Linked DNA regions of Homo sapiens: region 1 is linked to region 2. The links are contacts of gene promoters, found by promoter capture Hi-C in human tissues and cell types (Jung and others, 2019). All regions are on one chromosome and are shown on one strand. Each heading gives the region's core, a stretch centred on a gene start or on the middle of the fragment in contact. The rest is flanking DNA. Distances are from core to core; before and after follow the strand shown.

Region 1 (5,794 bases), core at 2,805-5,304, 690 kb after region 2:
GTATGACTCTATTCTGTTCCAGTCATCTGTATGTCTATCCTTTCTTCTCCACTATTTTTTTTCTTTTCTTTCTTTCTTTCTTTCTTTCTTTCTTTCTTTCTTTCTTTCTTTCTTTCTTTCTTTTTTTTTTTTTGAGACAGGGTCTCACTGTGTTGCTCAGACTGGTCTTGAACTCCAGGCCATCCTTCTGCCTCAACCTCCTGAGTAGCTGGGACTACATGCACGCACCACCATCCCTGGCTTATCCCTTATGCCTTGATTACTGTCGATTTATAGTTAAGTCTTGAAATTAGATAGTGTGGATCTTCCAACTTTGTTGTTCTTCAAAATTGCTTTAGCCTTTCTAGTTTATTTGTTTTTATATATAAAGTTTAGAATTAGCTTGTTGATTTCTACAAAAAATCCTGTAGGGATTTTGATTGGATTGGTGTATCTCTCTCCACTTGTTTAGGTCTTTGATTTTTTTAATCAGAATTTTGTAGTCTTCAGCGTGTAGATCTTACATATATAATTTGTTGTGTGTGTAGGTGTGTGCGTGCTGTTTAAATAGTACTTTGAAAAAATCCAACCTTCAAGTGTTTATTGATAGTAAATAAAAATACAATTAATTTTTGTATGTTGACCTTGTATCCTGTGACCTAGCTAAACGCACTTATTAGTTCTAACAGCTTTGCTGTAAATTCTTTGTGAATTTCTATGCAGACAATCATGCGAATAGTTTTATTTGTTTTATTTATTTGTTTCCGTTAATTTCTTCTTCTTGCCTTATTGCAGGCTATAAACTTTAGTATGATGCTTAACTTTTTAAAAAAATCCTTGTATTGTTCCTATTCTTAGAGTTAAGACAAGTCTTCCACCATCAAGGATAAGGCTAGCTGTTGTTTTGTAGGTAACATTTACCAGGTTGAGAAAGTTCCCTATGTTTTTTTTTTTTTAAATAGCTTTGGCAGTTTGTGTTCTTTAGGAAATTTGTCCATTTAATCTAAGTTGTTAAATTTATAGGCTTAGGATAGTTTGTGCTGTTTCCTTATTATTATTTATTATTATTATTTTTTGAGACAGAGTCTTACTCTGTTGCCAGGCTGGGGTGCAGTGGTGCAATCTCAGCTCACTGCAACCTCTGACTCCCTGGTTCAAGCTATTCTCCTGTCTCAGCCTCCCGAGTAGCTGGGATTACAGGCATGTGGCACCACGCCCAGCTAATTTTTGAGAGATGGGGTTTCACCATGTTGGTCAGGATGGTCTGGATCTCCTGACCTCATGATCTGCCCGCCTCGGCCTCCCAAAGTGCTGGGATTACAGGCATGAGCCACTGCAACTGGCCTCCTTATTATTCTTCAGTGCCTGTAATGATTTCTCCTCTTCCATTTCAGTTATGGATAATCGTCTTCTCTCTGTATTTCTTGGTGAGTGTGGCTAGAGGCTTATCGGTTGTGTTAATTTCGCTGGGCATGATGGTTCACACCTGTAACAAGCATTTTGGGAGGCCGAGGTGGGAGGATCACTTGAGGCCAGGAGTTCAAGACCAGCCTGGGCAACCCACTGAGACTCCTTCTCAATAAATAAATAAATAAATAAATAAAAATAATTTTTTTTGAAGTTCAAGTTTTATTTAATAAATTAAAATACATTATTCAATTTTAATTAATTTAAAATTTTTTTATTATACTTTAAGTTCTGGGGTACATGTGTAGAATGTGCAGATTTGTTACACAGGTATACACATGCCATGGCGGTTTGCTGCACCCATCAACCCCTCATCTACATTAGGTATGTCTCCTAAATGCTACCCCTCCCCTAGCTCGCCACCCTGTGGCAGGCCCTGGTGTTTGATGTTCCCACCCCTGTGTTTATGTGTTCTCATTGTTCAACTCCCACTTATGAGTGAGAACACGTGGTGTTTGGTTTTCTGTTCCTGTGTTAGTTTGCTGAGAATAATGGTTTCCAGCTTCATCCATGTCCCTGCAAAGGACATGAACTCATCCTTTTTTATGGCTGCATAGTATTCCATGGTGTATATGTGCCACATTTTCTTTAGCCAGTCCATCATTGATAGGCATTTGGGTGGGTTCCAAGTCTTTGCTATTGTGAATAGTGCTGCAATAAACATATATGTGCATGTGTCTTTATAGTAGAATGATTTATTATCCTTTGGGTATATACCCAATAATGGGATTGCTGGGTAAAACGGTATTTCTTGTTTTAGATCCTTGAGGAATCGCCACACTGTCTTCCACAATGGTTGAACTAATTTACACTCCTACAAACAGTGTAAAAGCATTTCTATTCCTTCACATCCTCTCCAGCATCTGTTGTTTCCTGACTTTTTAATGATCGCCATTCTAACTGGCATGAGATGATATTTCACTGTGGTTTTGATTTGCATTTCTCTAATGACCAGTGATGATGAGCTTTTTTTTCATGTGTTTGTTGACCACATAAATTGTCTTCTTTTGAGAAGTGTCTGTTCATATCCTTCACCTACTTTTTGATGGGGTTGTTTTTTTCTTGTAAATTTGTTTAAGTTCCTTATAGATTCTGGATAATAGCCCTTTGTCAGATGGGTAGATTGCAAAAATTTTATTCCATCCTGTAGGTTGCCTGTTCACTCTGATGATAGTTTCTTTTGCTGTGCAGAAGCTCTTTAATTTAATTAGATCTCATTTGTCAATTTTGGTTCTTGTTGACATTGCTTTTGGTGGTTTAGTCATGAAGTCTTTGCCCATGCCTATGTCCTGAATGGTATTGCCTAGGTTTTCTTCTAGGGTTTTTATGGCTTTAGGTCTTATGTTTAAGTCTTTAATCCATCCAATTTTTGTATAAGGTGCAAGGAAGGGGTCCAGTTTCAGTTTTCTGCATTTGGCTAGCCAGTTTTCCCAACACCATTTATTAAATAGGGAATCCTTTCCCCATCGCTTGTTTTCGTCAAGTTTGTCAAAGATCAGATGGTTGTAGATGTGTGGTGTTATTTCTGAGACCTCTGTTCTGTTCCATCAATCTATATATCTGTTTTGGTACCAGTACCATGCTGTTTTGGTTACTGTAGCCTTGTAGTATAGTTTGAAGTCAGGTAATGTGATGCCTCCAGATTTGTTCTTTTTGCTTAGGATTGTCTTGCCCATACAGGCTCTTTTTTGGTTCTTATGAAATTTAAAGTAGTTTTTTCTAATTCTGTGAAGAAAGTCAATGGTAGCTTGATGGGGATAGCATTGAATCTATAAATTACTTTGGGCAGTATGGTCATTTTCATGATATTGATTCTTCCAATCCATGAGCATGGAATGTTTTTCCATTTGTTTGTGTCCTCTTTTATTTCCTTGAGCAGTGGTTTGTAGTTCTCCTTGAAGAGGTCCTTCACATCCATTGTAAGTTGGATTCCTAGGTATTTTATTCTCTTTGTAGCAATTGTGAATGGGAGTTCACTCACGATTTGGCTCTGTTTGTCTATTATTGGTGTATAGGAATGCTTGTGGTTTTTGCACATTGATTTTGTTTCCTGAGACTTTGCTGCAGTTGCTTATCAGCTTAAGGAGATTTTGGGCTGAGGTGATGGGGTTTTCTAAATATACAACAGAGACCATTTGACTTCCTCTTTTCTTAATTGAATACCCTTTATTTATTTATCTTGCCTGATTGCCCTGGCCAGAACTTCCAATGCTATGTTGAATAGGAGTGGTGAGAGAGGGCATCCTTGTCTTGTGCCGGTTTTCAAAGGGAATGCTTCCAGCTTTTGCCCATTCAGTATGATATTGGCTGTGGGTGTGTCATAAATAGCTCTTATTATTTTGAGATATGTTCCATCAATACCTAGTTTAGCTAGAGTTTTTAGCATGAAGTGGTGTTGAATTTTATCAAAGGCCTTTTCTGCATCTATTGAGATAATCGTGTGGTTTCTGTCATTGGTTCTTGTTAATTTTCTGCCTTGTTGATCTGTCTAATATTGACAGTGGGGTGTTAAAGTCTCCCATTTTATTGTGTGGGAGTCTAAGTCTCTTTGTAGGTCTCTGAGAACTTGCTTTATGAATCTAGGTAATCCTGTATTGGGTGCATATATATTTAGGATAGGTAGCTTTTCTTGCTGCATTGATCCCTTTACCATTATGTAATGTCCTTCTTTATCTTTTTGATCTTTGTTGGTTTAAAGTCTGTTTTATCAGACTAGGATTGCAACCCCTGCTTTTTTTTTTGCTTTCCATTTGCTTAGTAAATATTCCTCCATCCCTTTATTTTGAGCCTATGTGTGTCTTTGCACATGAGATGGGTCTCCTGAATACAGCACACTGATGGGTCTTGACTCTTTATCCAATTTGCCAGTGTGTGACTTTTTTTTTTGAGACGGAGTTTCACTCTTGTCTCCCAGCCCATAGCCCTCACTTCCTCTCACCTATTGTTGGGGTCTCTGCCTATGGGCAGAAACCACTGCTTCCTTGCTTTCCCACTGCTTGCTTGCTTGTTTGCTTTTTTTTCTTTTTGAGATGGAGTCTTGCTCCATCACCAGGCTGGAGTACAGTGGTGTGATCTTGGCTCACTGCAACCTCTGCCTCCCCGGTTCAAGTGATTCTCCTGCTTCAGCCTCCTGAGTAGCTGGGATTACAGGTGCATGCCACCATGTCCAGCTAATTTTTTGTATTTTTAGTAGAGACAGGGTTTCGCCATATTGCCCAGGGTGGTCTCGAACTCCTGACCTCAGGTGATTCACCCACCTCAGCCTCCCAAAGTGCTGGGATTACAGGCATGAGCCACTGTGCCTGGCCCACTCTGTGTCTTTTAATTGGGGTATTTAGCCCATTTACATTTATGTTAATATTGTTATGTGTGAACTTGATCCTATCATTATGATGCTAGCTGGTTATTTTGCCTATTAATTGATGCAGTTTCTTCATAGTGTTGATGGTCTTTACAATTTGGAATGTTTTTGCAGTGGCTGGTGCCAGTTTTTCCTTTCCATATTTAGTGCTTCCTTCAGGAGCTCTTGTAAGGCAGGCCTGGTGGTGACAAAATCTCTCAGCATTTCCTCGTCTGTAAAGGATTTTATTTCTCCTTCGCTTATGAAGCTTAGTTTGGCTGGATATGAAATTCTGGGTTGAAAATTCTTTAAGAATGTTGAATATTGGGCCCCACTTTCTTCTGGCTTGTATGGTTTCTGCAGAGAGATCTGCTGTTAGTCTGATGGGCTTCCCTTTGTGGGTAACCCGACCTTTCTGTCTGGCTGCCCCTAACATTTTTTCCTTCATTTCAACCTTGCTGAATCTGATGATTATGTGCCTTGGGGTTGCTCTTCTTGAGGAGTATCTTTGTGGCGTTCTCCGTATTTCCTGAATTTGAATGTTGGCCTCTCTTGCTAGGTTGCGGAAGTTCTCCTAGATATCCTGAAGAGTGTTTTGTAACTTGGTTCCATTCTCCCTGTCACTTTCAGCTACACCAATCAAACGCAGGTTTGGTCTTTTCACATAGTCCCATATTTCTTGGAGGCTTTGTTCCTTTTCATTCTTTTTTCTCTAATCTTGTCTTCATGCTTAATTTCATTAAGTTGATCTTCAATCTCTGATATCCTTTCTTCTGCTTGATTGATTCGGCTATTGATACTTATGTATGCTTTACAAAGTTCTCGTGCTGTGTTTTTCAGCTCCATCAGGTCATTTATGTTCTTCTCTAAATTGGTTATTCTAGTTAGCAATTCTTCTAACCTTTTTTCAAGGTTCTTAGCTTCCTTGCATTGGGTTAGAACATGCTCCTTTAGCTCAGAGGATTTTGTTATTACCCACCTTCTGAAGTCTACTTCTGTCAATTCATC
Region 2 (6,245 bases), core at 1,853-4,352:
TGGGAGACCCTAAGCCACAGCCACCTGGCTAAACTGCTCCCAGATTCCAGGCCCTCAGAAACTGCATGAAATAATACATGTTTATTGCACTAAGTTGCTATGTTTTGGGGTAATTTGTTACATAGCAATGGACAACTAATACATCATACTTAGGGTAACAATTTATCTATTATTTGACCAGCTAATTTTTTTTCTAAATACATTCATTGAACCTCTTTGCTATGTTAATTAGATTACACAGATTAAATCATCTGAATAGAGTGCTCATCACCTTGTAATGACATGTTTATACAACAGGATATTATACTCAGTATTGAACTTCTTGAATCTAACCTTGCCTATATATATTGATTGCTATGAGGGTAAAAATCCAGACCTGTGTGTCATGATTCAGTACCTCAGGCCCTGACCCAATACTCAGGTCTTACTCTATATGATATATGCACTCTATATCTGTATATAAACATAATGTTTCTGCTCTACAATATATTTTGATATTAATAAAAGTACTCTTAGTCCTACCTGAATGAGGCATTTGCTCACATCACTAGCACAGAGTGCTTTGTTACAGCTCAGTGATTCTGGAAGCCATGTCAGGAACATCAGGATGGCTAGAGTAAGCACAGCAACATAGTGTAACTTCATGTTTCTTCAAAGAAGATGATCAGTAACTCCCAGGAAACTAAACAAACAAACACAACTTTAATTCAAAGGCAAGTGCTAGGGTAAAAACAAATATAAAAATGAGAAACAAAACATAAACTAAGACTCATTGTTTGTGTCAATATACTTTTTCTTTCTTTTTTAGAGTCTTGCTCTGTTGCCCAGGCTGAAGTACAGTGGTGTGATCATAGCTCACTGCAGCCTTCAATTCCTGGGTTCAAGTGATCCTCCCACCTCAGCCTCCCAGTTATCTGGGACTACAGACAATACCACCATGCCTGGCCTTCAAAAAACTTTTGAGTGATCATTTAAAGATCATTCTCAATGAAAGATTATATAAACATTCAAAAATAAACAATAATTTTGTATAATAATGGCTTCATAGCCATCTTCAAGGACCTAGAACTCTACAGTTCCTCAGACTATCCAGAAATGGTGACTGTGAAAGTAGAGTGAGTATATCTAAACCCTCAGTAACTTGAGAGTATATCAGGCAAATAACTAGCTTCAATACTGCACTGCTACTATTCAACTTTAATTTTAGGTCCATTATTCAACTGTAAGCCCATATAAAACTATTAATATTGTATTATAATTTTAAGATATTTAATTTTAATTCTTAGAATCAAAACAAAATTTTAAATGGAAATTATTCAGGCTTATTTAGACAGAATAAAGCAGCTCAAAGCAAGAAGTAGAGTCCACAGAGTCACTTCTTAAATAATTGAGCAAATAACAAAAGGCTGTTTAATTACTAATTGCATTAAAAACTCTAGGTAATTATTAGAATGTGACGATATTCTTTTTTTTTTTTTTCTTTTAGACGTTGTCTCGCTCTGTCGCCCAGGCTGGAGTGCAGTGGCGCAATCTCGGCTCACTGCAACCTCCGCCTCCCGGGTTCATGCGATTCTCCTGTCTCAGCCTCCCGAGTAGCTGGGATCACAGGAGCCTATCACCACGCCCCGCTAATTTTTGTATTTTTAGTAGAGACGGGGTTTCACCATATTGGCCAGGCTGGTCTCGATCTCCTGACCTCAGGTGATCCACCCGCCTCGGCCTCCCAAAGTGTGGGATTACAGGGGTGAGCTACCGCGCCCGGCCAAGATATTCTTTTAATTCTATTAGTACCACACATTCTTCAAAGTTATTAAGAAGATACTACAGTTCAAAAAGAAGAAGGAAAAAAGACTAGCACAAACACAGTCTGACAGGGGCCAAACAGTATACAGTTATTAAACTTTAAATACGGGAAGATATCATTTCTTCAGGTTAAAACACCTCCCTATCAAACATAATAAATTAAAATAAATGACTACTGACGTAAGAGGGATAAATAGTGAGTTTATGGGGGCATTTATGATTACTCTAAACTTTTATTCTAAGTGTTACAAAGTACATTAAAGGAAAAATAATAAAAGGGTGAAAAGAATAAAGGGCTTTGGACCTGGTATGAGTCAATTTTGAAAGAGAAAACCCTGGTGATCGTTACTGAGGCTCACAAAGCATTCCCTAAAGACCGTTAGTAACTAATTTTCTAATGTATCTAACGCCGCATACCAAGTAGGATGATTTCTGGAGCAACCAGTACATATTTGCGGAGGCCAAATAAGGTTATTTGGAGACTAACTGTCGTGGAACTAGTTTTCATCCTACAACCATGAAAACTGGGATTTCCCCCCTTTCCCATCTTTTACGGTTGTCTTATGAAATGTTCCACAAATTCATCTTACTCCCCAAATTTCACTGGAAAAAGTATTCAAGTAACTACGACCATGTCGAAATCAGGTAATAGAATTAAAGGACTTATCTTTTCCTAAGGAGTTAGAAACCATCATGCATCAAAATTGTTTCGCATACATCACGCCCAAGTTTCTCGTTAAGGGAGATGGCACTGACAGCGACCAGGGCAGAGCCGAGCCTCTGTAGAGCGGTGCCAGGGCCCCGAAGGCGCCGGACGCCCCGCGAGGCAGAGGCCGGTAGCGGTGTGGGGGACCGGGCACCCGGAACCACCCCCACCCCGGCTCGGCCGACGCGGGCTGCGGAGGACGCGGGCCGGCCCAGAGATGGTCTGGACCAAAGCGGCGCAGAGATGCTGCTGGCTCCCGGCGTCCGGCCTGTGCGCCCGCGCCCAGCACCCCCACTTTGTCCTCCGCGCAGCCGGGCCCAGGCTTCTCCCGGCCCCCGCGAAGCTCGCCGCGGCCCCGGGCCTCTAGAGGGCCGAGCTCGGCGCCCGGCCCCTTCCCAACCAAGAGGCCAAGAGGCTGCACAACCCCCCAGCCGCTCCCACTCACCATGCGCCACGGTCCCGCGAAGTCGCCCACCCCTAGATCCCCGCCGGGTCGGCCGAGCCCGGGGCGCGCTGCGGCGGCTTTGAGTGCGAGGCCAGGCCGCGCCTCCCGCCGTCCCCTCAGCGCAGCGCCCGCGAGCCTCGGGCACCTTAAAGAGACAGGCCCGCCCGCCGCCCTCCTCCCGGCTCCTTGCTCCCCGCCCCTGCTCCCCTCTTCCCCTCCGCCCCCGCTGGGGTCCACAGCCGCCAGCTCCCGCCAGGAGGCGTCTCTCACTCCCCCGGCGCTCCTGTCAGCGCGCACGCCCCCATCTCGGCCCCGCCCACTCCCCCCGCCCCTCCCAACGCCACGCCCCCTCCGCGCCACCCGGTTTCGCCCCTCCCTCGTGCCACGCCTCCACCGCAGGCTCCCGCCCGCCCGCCGGCCCGCAGGCCACGCCCCCAGGCGCACCCACCCCAGCTGCTCAACGCGATTTCCCTTCGCGCTTCTCCGCACCGGGATCCCCAGTCCCTCAGGTTCCGACAGACCCTCCTGTCAGGCCCATTCTCCGGGCCCCCTCAGTTGCAGTGTTAAGATCAACAGTGTTAAGATTAAAGCCTTGTGATGTGCTAGCCACTACGCTGAGGATATGCCGTGTACTAAAATTCCTCAGGACTCCTCACAGCTGCCCTGTAAGGAAGCGGCCATGGCCGGGTTCTAGCGATGCGAGGCCGAGGCTCGGGGCGCTGAGTAGCCTAGCGCGTCGCCGAGGAGAGCTGGCACGTGAACCCCTTGTCGTTTGCCGTCAGAGGTAGGATTTATATAAAATGCGCGTTTCCTAGGTCTACCTCAGACCTACTGAATAAGGATCTCCAAGGGTAGAGCTTTCGAACTTCGTTCACCAATTCGATAAAACTTGCCAGGCTCCTTGTGAGTGGCTGGCGCTGAGCTCTGCATCGGAGCTCTGCATCGGGAGTCGAGAAGAGGGGGCGCCATGGATCCGGGCGCGGAGGTCGCGCAGCCTAGGTAGAAGGTGCGCGGTTAGCACGTAGGTTAAAAACATTGAGAATGACACTCAGTTCTTTCCCACAACTCTGGGTTGCTTTTTTTTTTTTTTCTTTTGAGACAAGGTCTCACTCTCACCAGGCTGGAGGGCAGTGACAACATCAGGCTCGCTGCAGCCTCCACCTCCTAGGCTCAAGCAATCCTCCCGCCTCAGCCTCCCGAGTAGCTGGGGCTACGGGCGCGCACCACCACGCCTGGCTAATATTTTATTTTTTTGTAGATATGGAGGTCTTGCTATGTTGCCCAAGCTGGTTTCAAATTTCGGGGCTCAAGCGATCCTCCCACCGCGGTCTCCTAAATCGTTGGGATGACAGGTGTGAACCATAGTGCCCGGCCGGAATTTGCTTTTTAAAGAAGATTCCAGGGTGATTAAGTTAGAGCCCGCTAGACCAGACCGTCCGCGGGGCACCTTCCCTTGGAAATGATGACCTAGTGTCAAACCCTTATGCTGGTAAATCGTAAATGCCTACCACCCACCTTTGTTGATTGGAAGGAAACAGAATGAAAACAGCTGATTGGCTGGGGGTGGATTGCATTACTGATGTTAGCCCACTTTTGTACAATAAATATGGGTTTTAAAAATCATCCTTGAAAATTATCCTAGAGAAATAATTAAGGGTATACCCAAATTTAAGTATAAGAATCTTATTCTTGGCATTATATACTAGTTAAGTGAATTAGGAAACTTCCGATCAATGCACTAATTCAGCCATTAAAAAGTGATACCGCAGATCAGAGGTTCTCAAACTTTTTCGTCTCGGAATCCCTTTACACTCCTGAAAATTATGGAGCATGCCAAAGAGGTTTTGTGTATGTGTGCTACATCTGTTAATACTTTCAAAATTAAAACAATTTTTTACATATTCATTATTTCATTTAAAAATAACAAACCCATTATATGATAACAAATATTTAATGAAAAATAAGTATATATTTTAAAACAGTAGGAAGAACAGCGTGGTTTTAGATTTTTGCTATTGCCTTTAACATCAAACTTAATAGCCACTGTTTTTATATCTGCTTCTGTATTCAAACTGTTGCAGTATCATGTATTATGTAGTTTCTGCTTGTGAGAGAATGAGGGTGAAAAGTCAAATAATGCCTTAGAATTAAAATTAAAATAATTTTGAGCTCACAACCTCCTGAAAATGTCTTGGGATCCCTCCCTAGCAGCCCCAGATCACACTATGACAATTAGTGTTGCAGATGAATATTGCGACTAGAGATATTCATGATACATAAAAAATTTTAAAGTACTGCATAGTTTTTGAATAATTAATTTTGTTGTTGTTTGTTTGTTTTTGAGACAGAGTCTTGTACTTTCACCTGGGCGGGAGTGCAACGCTGCCATCTCGGCTCACTACAACCTCCGCCTCCCGAGTTCATGAGATTCTTCTGCCTCAGCCTCCCGAGTAGCTGAGATTACAGGCGCACACCACCACGCCCGGCTAATTTTTTGTATTTTTAGTAGAGATGGGGTTTCACTATGTTGGCCAGGCTGGTCTTGAACTCCTGACCTGGTGATCTGCCCACCTCGGCCTCCCAAAGTGCTGGGATTACAGGTGCAAGCCACGGTGCCCGGACTAGAGTTATTTTTAAAGTGCTGGAAAGATAATGATGGTATTAGTGGTTATCTCAGTGAGATGGAGTGTTGTCTGTTGTTAATGATGTTTTTTTCTTTTTGCTTGTCTGCATTTTCTGATGTCTTTGCTTGTATTAATTTGATAATAAGAAAAGTAACACAGTTATTTTTCATTTAAATTAAAGATCCTCTTTGACAGGACCTGGAAGGTCAAATGGTAGTTGAGCCCTCAGGTGAATATCAAGTGGTTCCGGATCTCAAATGGTTGGCCATTTGGGAATCTGGGAGCCACGGGGGTCACTGCAGTGGCTATTTTATTTCACCAGAAGACTTTCTGATCTTTGCAAGTGAGAGAGTCTGACAACAATGTGATAGAGCTTCTTAGTAGGGTTCAATGAAAAGTTCAAAGGATTCACTCCCAATCCTCAATCGGATACAGATGTGTCAGTGGGTGGAGTCTCTCAGCCAGCCACAGCTGCTCTACCAAATTACCTCATGTTTAGTGGCTTAAAACAACACAAATTTGACAGGGCGAAGTGGCTCACACCTGTAATCCCAGCACTTTGGGAAGCCAAGTTGGGAGGATGCCTTGAGCCCAGGAGTTCAAAACTAGCCAGGGCAACATGGCACAACTCCAACTCTACTAAAAAAAAAGTAAAAATTAGTCAGGT

What was found. The method cuts DNA at HindIII sites, captures the fragments that hold promoters and counts their contacts. A contact is called where the count stands out against the background at its distance.
Region 1: a contact is called between a fragment that was not itself captured here and the fragment with the promoter of TWSG1 in region 2, in 1 of the 25 tissues and cell types used here (heart left ventricle).

Annotation. Positions count from the first base shown.
Region 1 is chr18:8,647,885-8,653,678 of GRCh38, reverse strand. No RefSeq gene overlaps it. Among named protein-coding and RNA genes, the nearest start is that of RAB12-AS1, 14 kb to the right of the region's middle. The HindIII fragment of the contact is 8,267 bases long and covers 1-5,794 here.
Region 2 is chr18:9,331,630-9,337,874 of GRCh38, reverse strand. It overlaps TWSG1 (twisted gastrulation BMP signaling modulator 1), which reads right to left and starts at 3,102. Exons shown (of 5, transcript NM_020648.6): 1 at 2,955-3,102; 2 at 523-682. The coding sequence starts at 645. It overlaps TWSG1-DT (TWSG1 divergent transcript), which reads left to right and starts at 3,406. Exons shown (of 3, transcript NR_183523.1): 1 at 3,406-3,738. RefSeq lists enhancers at 2,502-2,551, 2,314-2,814 and a silencer at 2,612-3,401. The HindIII fragment of the contact is 24,059 bases long and covers 1-6,245 here.